Regions from separate parts of the Homo sapiens genome. Here region 1 is linked to region 2. The links are contacts of gene promoters, found by promoter capture Hi-C in human tissues and cell types (Jung and others, 2019). All regions are on one chromosome and are shown on one strand. The core of a region is centred on a gene start or on the middle of the fragment in contact, and the rest is flanking DNA. Distances in the headings are between cores, read along the strand shown. Region 1 has its middle 14 kb from the start of LINC00302. Region 2 holds the start of LCE3D (late cornified envelope 3D).

Region 1 (3,728 bases), core at 988-3,487, 60 kb before region 2:
GGTGAAACAGCCTTATATTGGAAGAAGATGCCATCTGGGACATTGATAGCTAGAGAGGAGAAATCAATGCCTGGCTTCAAAGTTTCAAAGAAAGGCTGATTCTTGTGGTAGGGACTAATGCAGCTATTGACATTAAGTCTAAGTCAATCATCATTTATAATTCCAAAAATCCTAGGGTCCTTAAGAATTATGCTAAATCTACTATGCCTGTGCTCTATAAAGTGGAACAACAAAGCCTGGATGGCAGCACATGTGTTTACAGCATGGTTTACTGAATATTTTAAACCCACTTTTGAGGCCTACTGCTCAGAACAAAGGATAACTTTCAAAATATTACTGTTCATTCACAATGCACCTATTCAGCAAAGAGCTCTGATAGAGATGTACAAGATTAATCTTGTTTTCATGCCTGCTAAGACAACATCTGTTATGAAGTCCATGAATCAAGAAGTAATTTGTTTTTTTGTTTTTTTTTGTTTGTTTTTGTTTTTGTTTTTTTCTTGAGACAGAGACTCGCACTGTTGCCCAGGCTGGAGTGCAGTGGTGCGATCTTGGCTCACTGCAAGCTCCACCTCCTGGGCTCACGCCATTCTCCTGCCTCAGCCTCCTGAGTAGCTGGGACTACAGGCGCCCGCCACCATGCCTAGCTAATTTTTTGTTCTTTTAGTAGAGATGGGGTTTCACCATGTTAGCCAGGATGGTCTCAATCTCCTGACCTGATCTGCCCACCTCGGCCTCCCAAAGTGCTGGGATTACAGGCGTGAGCCACCAAGCCTGGCCATAATTTCAGTTTTTAAGCATCATTATTATATAAGAAAAACATTTTGTAAGGCTATAGCTACCATAGACAGTGATTCCTCTGATGTGTCTGAGCTAAATCAATTGAAAACCTTCTAGAAAGGATGCCCCATTCTAGATACCATTAAGAAAATTCATGATTCATAGGACAATGTCAAAATATCAACATAAACAAGAGTTTGGAAGAAGTTGATTCCAACCCTCATGGATGACTTTGAGGGATTCAAGACTTCAGCGGAGAAAGTAACTGTATATGTGATGGACATAGGAAGAGAAATACAAGTGGAGTCAGAAGATGGGACTGAATTGCTGCAATCTTATGACAAAATTTGAATGGATGTGGAGCTGCTTCTTATGGATGAACAAAGAAAGTGGTTTCTTGACATGGAATCTACTCCTGTGAAGATACTGTGATCATTATTGAATGACAACAAAGGATTTAAAATATTACATGAACTTTGTGATAAAGCAGCGGCAAGGTTTGAGAGGATTGACTCAAATTTTGAAAGCAGTTCCACTGTAAGTAAAATGTTATCAAACAGCATCACATGCTACAGAGAAATCTTTTGTGAAAGGAAGTGTCAATCAATGCAGCAAATGTCATTGTTGTCTTATTTCAGAAAATTGTCACAACTACCCCACCTTCGGCAGCCACCACCCTGATCAATCAGTGACCATCAAGACAAGACCCTGCATCCGCAAAAATATTATAACTCAATGAAGGCTCACATTATGGTGTATTTTTAATTAAGATATCCTCATTATTTCTTAAATTTAATGCTATTGCACACTTAATAGACTGTAGTATAGTGTGAACATAACTTTCACATGCACCGAGAAGACAAAAAATTCGTTTGACTTGGTTTATTGCAATATTTGCTTTATTGCAGTGGTCTGGAACTGAACTCACAGTATCTTCGAAATATGCCTGTAGAGTAAATCCAGTTAACTGTAGAATTTTATTTTGCAAGCTGGTGAAACATCCTTTTGTTTAAACCTTCTCCTATTACAGAGCTCAATCTCTCTTCTCAATCTGTGTTGAATATATATTTGCACAATACCAGATTGAAATTACCCGTAAAATGAGTTTGTCCAGATGCCTATGTGTCTCTGTCTAGTCTGGCCGATTACCTGGTGGTTAAGAGCATAGACTCTGAACCAAACTTCTGGGGTTTGAATTCCAGTCCTGCCACTTAGTAGCTGTGTGAACCTCTCTGAGCCTGAGATTACTAAAATGATAATAATAATGTCTTCCTTGAAGAGCTGTTGTGAGTTAAACAGGTTAATATATGTAACATGCTAACAGCAGAGACTGTCCTAAAATGAAGCCTGTATTTGTCGTTGTTGCTGCTGGTGTTTTGCTGTGAAAAGTGAGTCTGGGTTGCCAGAAAGTCTAGACTAGGAAGCTGAACCAATGTCTCATTTCCATTTGGACTTACTCAACAATCATACCCACCACAGGAGGCCACAGCTGAAGGCCATCACCCTTGTTGCTTTTCTTGCTTGCCAGGGGCCAAGAACAGGTGAGAGCTGAGAATACATTTTTAGAACACCCACAGCCCTCAAGATCTAACCAGAATATCTGTTTTCTTTCCAAGCTTAATCCTCTGGCCATGATAGGGCCTATGACTCAGGAAAATGTTGGGGAAATAGCTCAAGTACCAACAGGGAAATAAAGACAACTTTCCCTAGTGTCAAACTGAGAAGAGTCTATGTAGAGAAAATTCCAGACCCAGATTGGGCTGAGATTCGATAACAGAGTGGCTCTGCATGTTATACAGCTATCTGCTCCTCCCTATGCCACTGCACATGCCACAGACTGGCCTTTGCCTATCTCCTGTACTAGAAAAATAACTGGTTGGGTGGCCATTCTGCCTATAGCTTACCCCAACCAAAAAGAAAAAAAAAAAACCTTCCATACTGCAACAGTAACCATTTAGGATTCTTTTTCAATCAACTTTAAAATTGTAAAAATAGTTTGGAAACTATGGGGATATAGAAAGAATAGATTAATAATCATCCCCACATATCCTGCCACCCAGATAGTACTATTGACACCCCTGCTTATTGGTACCAGAGCACACCTTTCATCCTACTGCCTTCAGGCACAAACTCATGCTATCTTTGGGCCTTGAAAACCTTCCTCCCTTTTAATTTTAATTAAATAAAAATTTACTGCCTCCAATTAGTCAAAGCTCATTGAGGGCAGAAATCAAGACCTATTAAACTGTCTCTGTCACCCAGCTCTAGCACAGACCTGAGTACAGAGCCAAGGAGAAGATATGCTGATTGGTCAACTGGTTGCCATGAATCCCTTCAAAAGCTTCTCTCCAGTAACATACAGTGGACCCATATATGGAAGACGCTCATACTAATTGTTAGTGTTTTGCTGTTGGGGCAAAAAAAATAGAAAGATATAAAGGAATGTGGACATTTCTATGGTTAAGAATGCCAATTAAACACTCTAACCCCACAACCACATCATAAGATGTCACCTAGACATGGGGTTTTTGTCAGTATCATCACCTTTGTCATGTTAAATATCATCAACGTAAGGGGGAAGCTCTTTAAATAGTAAATATATTTCTAAAATTTTTTTGGGGGGGAGGCACAACAAAAGCTCATCCATTTATTCATTGACCAGTTATTTATTGAGTGCCAAATTTATGCCAGAAACTATTAAGTGATTTCTTAGTCTATTTTCTGCTGCCATGACAGAGTACCAAACACTAGTTAATTTTTTTTATGTCTCACTTGTAAGTGGGAGCTAAACAATGAGAACACACGGATGCAAAGAGGGCAACAACAGACACCAGAGCCTACTTGAGGATGGAGACTGGGAGAAGAGAGAGAATCAAAAAAAGTACCTCTCAGCTACTATACTTATCACCTGGGTGACTAAATAATCTGTACACCAAACCCCCACAACA
Region 2 (3,953 bases), core at 1,263-3,762:
CTTAGTATCCCTGACATCCTGAGGACCTGGGATAATGAAGAAGAAATTTACTTGACTGGCTCAAAATGAGGATGTTATGACCTAATAACAAGCATGTTGACTCTGGGCCAGGAGGTGCTTTATCTGAGGTCTAGTTCCAGGGTGAATCTTCTGAGAAGTCATATTAGTAATAAATGAGTGGACAAACAACCAACCAAGGATCAACCCTTCTCCTTTGCAATATATGACTGATGCTATGAAAAGCAGCTGAGTCATTCTTGGGGAAGATGAGATGAGCAAGCCATCAATGGCAACTTGGGAAGTTGTCCAAGTTGTCGTGGAGTTTATGTCATTTAATTTTCTTACTATTGGATTTCAGAAGCACAAAATTAGATTAACAAATACCCTCTGTTCATATTATATGCTCACAATTCATCCATGCTTGGCCTTCTTAATTAATGTGCCTACCTGTTTGTCTATTATTTAAATAACAAACACACAAAAATTCACCATCCAAGCGAAAATGATAACTTTGATAGTAAATTATATGCACCTGTGTAATTCAGCCTTCACCCATGTCCCTGCCTGTCCCATCTAATATAACCATGATCCTAAATCTTGTATTCATCATTCTTTGCTTCCCTTTTGGTATATTTCATTATTTTTTATTTCTAAAAATTGTTATTTTAATTGTTTTTTCTATTTTAAGTTTCATTTCTTGAGATTTTGTATACCAAAATATCATCCATTTAATTATCCAATTCTATGAGCTTTAACTAACATATATAGTCAGGTAAACCCCACAACAACTAAGACATACAACAGTTCTATCACCTCAAAATATTCCCTCATCTGCTTATTAAATCAGCCTCTCCCTCATACCAGCCCTTGGCAACCACTGACCTATTTTCAGTTCTTATAATTTTGCCTTTTCAAGAATGCCCTATAATTAAAATTATATAATATGTAGTATGTAAAGTCTGACTTCTTTTGCATTTGAGATTCATCCCTGTTGTTTTATATATCAGTAGTTGATTCCTTTTTTATTGCTAAGTAGCCTTCCATTGCATAAATATACCATTTTTAAAACTCTATTCATCAGTTGAAGATCTTGTGGGGTTCTTCAAATTCAGGGCAGTTATGAATAAAGCCACTATAAATGTTGGGCTACAGGTTTTTCTGTGAACATACAACTATATTTCTTTTGGCTAAATATCTAAGAATAGGATTTCTGGGGCAAATTGTAAGTTGTATGTTTAATTTTTTTGATAGACTGCCAACTAATGTAATTTTGCATTTCTACCAGCAATGACTTGGGCTTCTTGTTGTTCTACATCCCTCATATTACTTGATATTGTCATTTATTTCATTTTAGCCATTCCAATGTGTATAGAGTGGTATCTCACTTTGCTTTTAAATTGCATTTCTCTAATGACTGATTAGGTTGAGTATCTTTTCATGTGCTTAACTGCCACCCATATATCTTCTTTGTTAAAATGACTCTTCAAATACTTTGCCCATATTTTCTGTGTTATTACCTATTTTTGAGAATTTAAAAAACATTGGCCGGGCACAGTGGCTCTGTAATCCCACCACTTTGGGAGGCCGAGGCGGGTGGATCACAGGTCAGGAGATAGAGACCATCCTGGCTAACACAGTGAAACCCCATCTCTACTAAAAATACAAAAAAATTAGCTGGGTGTGGTGGCAGGCGCCTGTAGACCCAGCTGCTTGGGAGGCTGAGCAGGGAGAATGGCGAGAACCCGGGAGGCAGAGCTTGCAGTGAGCCAAGATCGCGCCACTGCACTTCAGTCTGGACGACAGAGCAAGACTCCGTCTCAAAAAATAAAAATAAAAAAAAAATTCTTGAACCAAGTCCTTGGTAAGATTTGTGTTTTACAATATTGTCTCCAAGTCTGTGAATTTTCTTTGCATTTGCCTAGCAGTGCCTTTTGAAAAGCAGAAGTTTTTAATTTTGATGAAGTCCTATATTTCTTTTTTGAATTGTACCTTTTTGGCATATCTGAAAAATTTTGCATAACCCAAAGTCACAAAGATTTATTATGTTTTATTGCAGAAGTTTCATAGTTTAATTTTTTAAATTATGATCTATTAATTTTTATATCTAGCATTAGGTATGATTTCTTTTACATATGGACGTCCAATTATTTCATCTCTATTTGTTGAAATGACTATTATTTCTCCAGTCATGACTCAAGAAAGAATTATGTCATACTAATTCCCAGGAAATTGTAAAGGACAGACTGTGCTCCACAGCACGTGAGTTGAAACAAGGAAGAAGGGAGGAAGAAAAGAAGCAGTGGTAGCCTCCCAGGTGAGAGGTATGTGGACAGTGATCCTGCTTCCAGGTTCAATGTCATTGGTTGGATATTATGGAAGTGCCAAAGCTACAAACCTAGTCTTGGGCGTGTGCCTTGTTGACACCTCCCCTGGTTGTGAAAGCAGCAGCATGCCCAGGCTGTGCATCACACACCGTGCACAAGATAAAAGCACTCCTGCCCTGGGCTCCTCATCCACCGTCTCCTCAGGAACAGCCTTCTCCTGCCTCCTCTGCACCTGGTGAGTGTCCAGCAGGGGATGGGACTCAACTTGGGATGTTGGAACAGAAAACTAAGGTCATAGCAGGAGAGGGAAATGGAGAGATCTGAAACAAAAGCCCGGAGAGAGGATGGCAGAGAGGGTACCAATGTGGGAACTGGGGCCAGGAGGGAGACCCTGCAGGAACTGACAGCAATTCCATGACCTGCAAAGGCCACAGAAGCTTATGATTCCTTCCCATCCTCTTTCTACTCAGGCTGGCACATGTTTCCTATGATCTCCATTCTCCAGAATGCCTTTTGTCAAAAGGGTACATTCCTAGAGGCTCTTTGGAGAAACAGAAACATGGATGCCCACTTAGACTCACAGCAATCTGTCCCTGGTGGAGAACAAAGTGAGAGGCATCTGGCATGTCCCACCAACTCCACATCAGCTTCCCTCACCTTCCTGCAGCTCTTGCCTCAGGAGGCCGCTGGTCTTAGAGACATTGGACTGTAGATTTTGGACTAACAAATGGCTTTGTTTTGTCCAGGACAACTCAACTCCTGCCAAGATGTCCTGCCAGCAGAACCAGCAGCAGTGCCAACCCCCACCCAAGTGTCCCTCACCCAAGTGTCCCCCAAAGAGCCCAGTACAGTGTCTGCCTCCAGCTTCCTCTGGCTGTGCCCCAAGCTCTGGGGGCTGTGGCCCTAGCTCCGAGGGCGGCTGCTTCCTGAACCACCACAGGCGCCACCACCGATGCCGGCGCCAGAGGCCCAACTCCTGTGACAGGGGCAGTGGTCAGCAAGGCGGGGGCTCTGGCTGCGGCCATGGCTCTGGAGGCTGCTGCTGACCTGGATCCTGATGCTGAGACAAGCGATTTTGGAGGAAACAAGAATCCCAAGGGCCCAGGAAAACCCCATCTTGATGCATGAGTTCCCAGATACCCTCTTCTGGCTTTCACAGGCTGAGCTAGGGGTTTTCCTGTGGAAGGTCTGAGCTCTCCCCAGAAGGCACTTCCTGTCTGATGTCCAGGATGTCACATGTTCCCTTACCCCTGTACCTGTGAAGGATTGGCAGTGCTTGTGCCTGACCTCATCAAAAAATAAAGCTCCTTGTCCTCATTACCACTGGTGTCTCCCTTGGCATTTCACTCTGTCTCTCCCTAGGTGGGGCTGGAAGTGTGCCCTCCTGTCTGCCCCTGACATCCAGCACCACCACAGGGAAGATGCAGAATTCTAGCTCTAGGTCTGCAAAATTCAGGAATCTGTCGAGTCCTTTTCTGCTGGAATTGTGCGGCAGTGGGGGACAGGATGTGATGAGAGGGGTTGTAGTGAGGCCTCTAACTGTCAGAAAAGAATGACTGAAATGTGATTGTCCTCTCATAATGGACTCCCCAGTCGTAGGAGGAGCTAGCTACTAGATGTTTCTGACAT

Evidence for each region. Contacts are between HindIII fragments. The study calls those that stand out against the background at their distance.
Region 1: a fragment that was not itself captured here is called in contact with the fragment with the promoter of LCE3D in region 2 in 2 of the 25 tissues and cell types used here (lymphoblastoid cells and neural progenitor cells).

Annotation. Positions count from the first base shown.
Region 1 is chr1:152,639,156-152,642,883 of GRCh38, reverse strand. No RefSeq gene overlaps it. Among named protein-coding and RNA genes, the nearest start is that of LINC00302, 14 kb to the left of the region's middle. The HindIII fragment of the contact is 5,806 bases long and covers 1-3,728 here.
Region 2 is chr1:152,579,075-152,583,027 of GRCh38, reverse strand. It overlaps LCE3D (late cornified envelope 3D), which reads left to right and starts at 2,512. Exons shown (of 2, transcript NM_032563.2): 1 at 2,512-2,559; 2 at 3,071-3,647. The coding sequence starts at 3,092. The coding sequence ends at 3,370. The HindIII fragment of the contact is 3,963 bases long and covers 1-3,708 here.